Linked DNA regions of Homo sapiens: region 2 is linked to region 1. The links are contacts of gene promoters, found by promoter capture Hi-C in blood cells and fetal thymus (Javierre and others, 2016). All regions are on one chromosome and are shown on one strand. The core of a region is centred on a gene start or on the middle of the fragment in contact, and the rest is flanking DNA. Distances in the headings are between cores, read along the strand shown.

Evidence for each region. The method cuts DNA at HindIII sites, captures the fragments that hold promoters and counts their contacts. A CHiCAGO score of 5 or more calls a contact.
Region 2: a contact is called between a fragment that was not itself captured here and the fragment with the promoter of G6PD in region 1, in 2 of 17 cell types (non-activated CD4 T cells and naive CD8 T cells). The highest score is 7.5, in non-activated CD4 T cells.

What each region holds. Positions count from the first base shown.
Region 1 is chrX:154,544,378-154,548,095 of GRCh38, forward strand. G6PD (glucose-6-phosphate dehydrogenase) reads right to left here and starts at 2,469. Exons shown (of 13, transcript NM_001360016.2): 1 at 2,412-2,469; 2 at 1,659-1,786. The coding sequence starts at 1,778. It overlaps IKBKG (inhibitor of nuclear factor kappa B kinase regulatory subunit gamma), which reads left to right and starts at 3,243. Exons shown (of 10, transcript NM_001099857.5): 1 at 3,243-3,368. RefSeq lists enhancers at 1,505-2,048, 3,351-3,630 and a silencer at 2,351-2,910. The HindIII fragment of the contact is 7,888 bases long and covers 1-3,718 here.
Region 2 is chrX:154,324,900-154,328,617 of GRCh38, forward strand. It overlaps TKTL1 (transketolase like 1), which reads left to right. Exons shown (of 13, transcript NM_012253.4): 10 at 440-523; 11 at 2,692-2,788; 12 at 2,940-3,059. Among named protein-coding and RNA genes, the nearest start is that of TKTL1, 31 kb to the left of the region's middle. The HindIII fragment of the contact is 6,606 bases long and covers 1-3,718 here.

The sequences.
Region 1 (3,718 bases), core at 1,219-3,718:
TCTCGATCTCTTGACCTTGTGATCTGCCCACCTTGGCCCCCCAAAGTGCTGGGATTACAGATGTGAGCCACTGCGCCCAGCCAATTTTTGTATTTTAAGTAGAGACTGGGTTTCGCCATGTTGGCCAGGCTGGTGTCAAACTCCTGACCTCAGGCGATCCACCTGCCTCGGCCTCCCAAAGTGCTGGGAATACAGGCGTGAGCCACCGTGCCCGGCCAGGTATGGCTCTTCTGAGGGGACCAGGCTGGGGCTGGGGCTGAGGCCAAGCCCAATCTACTGTGGGCTCCACCTGGTACCTCTCCTGGGTCTCAGGCTTATGGGGAGTCAGAGGACAATGGCCCCTCCTTACTCTGCCACTGGCAGAGCCCTTCTCCCTCGGCTGCCTCCTCATTCCCTTTTGGCTCTCCTTTTCTAAGTTCTGATCAGAAGTACAAAGGTGTCAAGGAGTAGGTTTGACAAAGTGTGACAGCGCGTTGTTCTATGTGAACAAAGAACCACTGAGCTCAGCCAGCACTGAGGGGCGCACGATGTGGAAGAACTAACTAGTTTTGATAGAGCTCCTGCTCAAGGTTACAAGGTAAGTTAATGGCAAAGATGGTCATACAGTAATGAGCAGAGAGATTCTTGAGTGCATCCAGGGTTAAAAGTGAAAACTGAGACCACGTGTAATTTGAGATGAAGCCCTTGTTCCACCAGCCCCTGCACAGTCTCACTGCCCCATGGGACACAGGGGAGGGTGCTCTAGTCTCGGGCGATGGCTGTCCTAGGACCACCCCTCCCTCCCCTCCCATGGAAATCCTCATGCTATACTATTCTTTTGTCTTTCCTATGAGTGCAGAATGGCGGTTCTACAAGCTGGACAATTGGGGCCAGGTGGGGTGAGGCAGAGCTCCTTGGTAGGCTTTCGAAATTGAGGCAAAGAGACAGTGTTCAAAGAAAAGCTAAGTGTTTGTATCGACGGAACTTGAAGTGTTAGTGAAGAGGCAGAGATCAGGCCTCAGATCCTGCCTTTGGAACTCATTTGTTAAGGCATGAACAGGTCTGAAAAAACTACAGAATGAATAGCATTCCCTGTTTTCCCCAAGAAGTCCATCTAGACAGTCCCTAAAGAGCCTGCAACTCCAGGATTAAGGGCTACATTCAGCGGCTAGGCACAGGGTTCAGAAACGTCCTGCAGCCGGGCGTGGTGGCTCATGCCTGTCATCCCAGCACTTTGGGAGGCCGAGGCGGGCGGATCACTTGAGGTCAGGAGTTTGAGACCAGCCTGGTCAACATGGTGAAACTCCGTCTCTACTAACAATACAAAAATTAGCCGGGTGTGGTGGTGCATGCCTGTAATCTCAGCTACTTGGGGGGCTGAGGCAGGAGAATCGCTTGAACCCAGGAGGCCGAGGTTGCAGTGAGCCAAGATGGCGCCACTGCACCCCATCCTGGGCGACCAGAGCAAAACTCCGTCTCCAAAAAAAAAAAAAAAAAAAAGTCTTGCAAGTGCATATGCACACCAGGTAGAGCCGGGATGATCCTGGCGCACTAGCAGGAGCGGGAGGAGGAGCTCAACTTAGCAGAGCCTGTGGGGCCCTGCAACAATTAGTTGGAAAAGCTGAGGCATGGAGCAGGCACTTCCTGGCTTTTAAGATTGGGGCCTGGGAGATACTCACCGATGCACCCATGATGATGAATATGTGTGTATCCGACTGATGGAAGGCATCGCCCTGGAAAAGCTCTTCCCGCAGGATCCCGCACACCTGGGTCCGGCTCAGGGCCACCTGCTCTGCCATGACGCTGTCTGGTGGAAGAAAGGCTCGTTAACAAGGCAGAAGAACAGGAGAGCATTGAGAAGTTAGCCCCTTTCTTGAGAGTTCCTCTGGGGTCTCACACCAGGGTGACACCTGATTGCCCAAATCACTCCTTGTGAACGGCTGGGCATTGGGGAGTGGTTGATGGGTTAGAAACTGCTGGCTCTGGGCTCCAGCCACTCTCTCCTAGGCAGCCTTCATTCAGGGTGTACATTACAAAATTACTCAAAGCATTGGTGTATTCCGACTACAGCATCAATTCTGGACAACCGAGTAAAATCCTTGTGGGGCATGGAACTGCGTGCCCAGGACCATCTCATTCCCGACTGTAGCGGGAACTCCACAATGACCTGGAGCATGGGAGATGGTGCAGATGCTGGAGTTCAGCTCCAGCCCTCCCCTTGCCAAGCTGGGTGACCCCGGTCGGCAAGTCCCCTTCGCTCTCGGGGTCTCAGGGGCTCAAGAGAGGAGGTGCGGGGTATAAAGGGATTGGTTAAGACCCTCTCGATTCTGCTCGGTTCTCAAGCACAACAAACAGCGTGTATTTTACCGCCGCGCGGCGCAGCGCGGGACAGTACGCTCCTCCGCCTGCGCGGCGCCCGCCCGGCCGGTTACCTGCGCTTCGTCGTCGTCGCCCTCCGCGCTCGCAGCCCCGAAGTGTACGACCGTTTCCGGGGGCTGAGCCCCGCCGGCCCATTTAATCGGCGGGGGCGGGGGCGGGCGCCTGGGCTGAGCGGACCCGCCTCAGGCGAGGCGTGCGGGGCGGGGCCTCGGCCACCACCCCTCGTGCGGGCGGGGCGGGGCGAGGGCAGGTGCGCGCGCATCCCAGGCCAGCCCCTGCCTCTCGGGCACCTGCGCTGGAGGCCGGCCCGCCGGCTGCCTGCCATACCCGCTGCCGCTGCTCTGCATCCCCAATTCCGGCGGGCACGGGTGCAGCTCCGCGTAGTGCTCCCGCATCCCCATCGCCGGCCCGGCCCCGCCCCTACTGTCCGGTTTCCCCGCCTGCCCCGGCGGCCTCGCGCGCTCGCGGAGGGCTCCACTTCCGCCGGCAGCGTGGCCACGCCTCCTCTGGGCTGTCCCTCGGCTCCTGGGCGGGGCCTTCTGCCGCGCCACTCCCCCGGGAACCCTCGCCTGTTCGCGGGTCAAGCCGGCCCTATTGGGCAGTCTCTTCTTGATTCCTCCCCCGGAGAGGGCGGGGCGGCCGAGCGCCCCGAGGCTAGACGCCGCCGTCCGAGAGACGAGGGGGCGTGTAGGCGGTGACGCCCTGCAAAGTGGCCGGCGTGCTTATCATTACCGAGCTTCCGCGGGCCTGCAGAGCCTGGCGGACTCAGACTTCTCTCCGGAGCGGGATGCGGCCCTACCGCGGCCTCACACTTCTCGCCGGCTTCCCGAGTTCTCGGGGGCGGGGCTTGTGTTTTTACTTCCGGATCCCACAGCTATGACACCGGAAGCCGGAAGCGTGGTAGGGAAGGGCGACCGCGAAACTGGGACTTTCTCGGAGCGCCGGGGCCCTACCAGCGTTCACAGTCCGCCGCTCCCACCCTTCTCACGTCTGACGGACTCTGCTGACAGGTGTGGTCCTTTTCCCCAAAGACAGGGTTCCATCCGTGGGCGTTCCGCCGCCTCCGAAACTTCCCCCGGACGTTCAGGCTCCCCCCTCTTTTTTGGGCCCCAGCCCGTTCCTGCTCCGCGCTTCTGGAGCACTGGCCAAGGCGGGCCGATTCAGGACCCAGGTTACTTGGGCGGCGAGCTGGACTGTTTCTACTCCTCCCTCCTCCTCCACTGCGGGGTCTGACCCTACTCCTTGTGTGAGGACTCCTCTAGTTCAGAGACATATTCTGTTCACCAAACTTGACTGCGCTCTATCGAGGTCGTTAAATTCTTCGGAAATGCCTCACATATAGTTTGGCAGCTAGGTATCT
Region 2 (3,718 bases), core at 812-3,311, 220 kb before region 1:
ATGTATTTACATTTTATTGGGAAAGGGGCCAGTCGTCTTGTATTCAGATAGATGTTTATGGTCTTTCTAAGGATGAAGCATTACAAGTTATTGTGGCAAAAGTTAATGTTTTAACATTCTATTCGGGCTTTCTAGTCAATGTGAGTCAGTGCTCCTGCCGTGAGTTAATGTTCTGTCTGCACAGAACAAGTCAGTGAGTATTGGGGAATCTTCCAAGGGGATTGGTGTGATGGCATGGGGGAGCTTGTCCTTCAGGGCAGCCCCAAGGTCCTGCTGGGACCTGTCGTCCACTGGTTGTAGATGCTCACCCCTTTCTCCAAAGCCTGTGTTTTTAGTAGAAAGAGCTGTCCTCTTCACACCCCTCCTTCACTTCTTTCAACGTCTGTTGTTGGAAATTCATTGTTTGCTTTTCTAAACCATGGCTCCATTTATGCCCTAGGGGATGTGCTTCATTCGGACCACCCGACCAGAAACTATGGTTATTTACACCCCACAAGAACGCTTTGAGATCGGACAGGCCAAGGTAAGGGCTTACGCGCTCCTGCGTTATTCAGTATCATCTCCTGTAAAAAGAACACTTCTGAATCTATCACCAGCTATCTTCAGAGTTGAGACATCATCCTTTCTTTGCTCTCATTTTTTTAAAAAACAGTTGTGACCTTTACCTGCTTTTCCTTGGGAAGGAACATTCTATGAATTTCAGCTTAGCCTGAACTTTTCTGCTTTCCAAATGGAGTCTTTTGTTGTTGTTGAGTTCAAAGATAGTAACATGAAGCCACTTGAGCGGTCGTGGCTATAATTTATCTTGGCCGCAAGCTAAACAAAACAGAAGCCAGCGCTTTGGGAGGCCAAGGCGGGAAGATTGCTTGAGGCCAGGAATTCCAGAGCAGCCTGGGAAACATAGCGAGATTCCCATCTTTACAAAAATTTTTTAAACTAGCCGGGTGTGGTGGCATCCACCTGTGGTCTCAGCTACTCAGGAGGCTGAGGAAGGAGGATAGAGGAGCGCAGGAATTCAAGGCAGCAGTGAGCTATGATGGATCACACCACTGTACTCCAGCCTGGGTGACAAGAGTAAGACCCTATCTCTAAAAACAAGACAAAAAATAATAGAAATCACTTGAAATGAATAATCTGTTAGGTTCAGATTTTACAGATCTAAGGCCAGGAATAAAAGGGAACATGATCTCTGGTATTCTCACAAAAGCCCTGAGAAGTTCAGATTATCAGTCCTATCTGTAGATGAGGATTGGAGAAAGTAAGTGTCTTACTTAAGGGTTTACAGCTTGTGAGTACCAAGACCAGAATCCAGGCCTGAGTAGTGAGCCCAGTCTCCCCAGGTCTGCCCACCACGCTGACCATCCCCTGCTCAGCCTGCCTGTCAGGGCCATGCATAGAGAAAAGCAGAAACGTCTATGGAGAAAATAAGTGACTCTGCTCATCACCTAGGGAGTGGGGCTTGTAGACATTTTGGCATGCTTCCTTCCTGTCTTTGTTCTAGGCATACATGTATATTTTACACAGTTGAGATCATACTGAATAGAAAGGTTTGCCCATAGCCACTCTTGAAAGAGCAGCAGGTAACATCCAATTTGGTTGCTAAGGACTAGGCTGCTCCAGAATTCACAGTTGCAAGTACTCAGAATGGCCAGAGTGCTGCCATAAAGCAGGTGTTTCCAGAACTGTCCACTGTGTGCCATAACGTAGCTGGAAAACGCCACCAAATGGAAAAGTTAGTGTTCACCTTTGGTGTTAACTACAGGTTCTGTTTCTATGGGGAGGGTCTCTTGACATTCACATGGTTTGCAGAGCTTGCTTATTTCTGTCGTCTCTTTTCTAATAATTTTCCTGTCCTGACAAAAGCAAGTAAATTTACTGATAGTAAAGGATGTGAGATAAATGTGTGTGATAACATGCATGGCATGGATCGTTAAAGGGCTGGGCTTTGAAAAGAGGACATGGATATGTGTGCATGCGTGTATAAGTATTTTAAGAGGCCAGGACATCCTTAAAGAATGGGGTGGCTCAGAAACCCTTTCTGTACTATCAGCAATGGTTCTTAAGCTACAGGGAAACCTATACAGAGGGGAAGTGGAGAATAATTCCAGATGCCTCCGATGGGTAGCTTTGGAGGCAACAATCTATGAAAGAAGCCCAGGAACTCTGTCTTTGCTTGCAGAATAGTACGTTGTCGAGAGCGAGGGCTTTGATGTCAGCCCCGCCTGGCTGTGGGTCCCAGCCCTGCCCTGGGCCACTTCCTCCTGCTCTGAGATTTGCTTTCCTCAGCTGCAGAACGGTTGTGCCACTGAACAGATCTTACAGGGAGGCTGTGAGGGTTCTCAGAGTTCAGGCACACAAGATCTTAGCACTCAGCGTGTTGCCAATGCCCAGAATGTTCTCATTAACATGTTAGTCACTGGAGTCCAATCTTTGCATGCCATAGTGAGCTCTCAAACCAGACTCCTGATGGGTATGTGGCGTATCCATGCTCCAGGACAGCTGGAGCAGTGTAATTTCCTATCAAAAAGTATGTGTCCTGGCTTGTAAATGCATCTGATTTTTTTAGTAGTGAGTTATTAAGGAGTGAAATTGTTAGAATTGGGGGATAGCGGCATAGCAAAGTGCCTTCCACTTTGACATGCATTCTGTGTGTAGTAACCACGGCATTCTGTTTTGCTGGCACTATACCAGGTCCTCCGCCACTGTGTCAGTGACAAGGTCACAGTTATTGGAGCTGGAATTACTGTGTATGAAGCCTTAGCAGCTGCTGATGAGCTTTCGAAACAAGGTCAGTTGGTTGAGTATGAGCATTGAAGTTCAAGCTGGGAAGAGGTAGGACTTCAGCTACCTCCTGTGCCCTGAGTGCTCTTTTTATTTTTATCCCTGCATGTTATTCTGAGTCTCTTTCTTGTACCAAGCTGGTTTTTGCTGTTCTGCAGATATTTTTATCCGTGTCATCGACCTGTTTACCATTAAACCTCTGGATGTCGCCACCATCGTCTCCAGTGCAAAAGCCACAGAGGGCCGGATCATTACAGTGGAGGATCACTACCCGCAAGGTGTGTGTGGGCATTGAGAATGCTTTGGAAGGTTTTGGTGTTTTTGTTTCCTTGATTGGCCACATGGCATGCTCTCAGGCATCACCTATAGTCTACCTCTCACCCAGCATGGCTTTGTTATTTGATGTTCACTAAGCGTGGGGCCATACTCATACACATCTGTGTGTCCCCAACAGAGTGCACAGTGCCCAGTCACCAGGGCGGGTCAGTGGCAACACAGAGGAGTGGCTATTGCAGGCAAGCGAGGTGTCATGAAAAGCATCGCAGTTTCTTTGGGTTTGGAATGATGAATAGTATGCCCCAGGCCAGGCGTGGTGGCTTACACCTGTCATCCCAGCACTTTGGGAGGCCGAGGCAGGTAGAGATCACTTGAGGCCAGAAGCTCAAGACCAGCCTGGTCAACATGGTGAAACCCCATCTCTACTAAAAATACAAAAATTAGCTGGGTGTGGTGGTGCATGCCTGTAGTCCCAGCTACTTGGGAGGTTGAGGCAGGAGAATCACTTGAACCCAGGAGGTGGAGGTTGCAGTGAGCCAGGATCATACCATTGCACTCCAGCTTGGGAAACAGAGTGAGACTCTGCCTCAAAAAAAAAAAAAAAAAAAAAAAAAAAAAAAAAAAAAAAAAAAAAAAGTGTGCCCCGACGAAAGCAGGTATA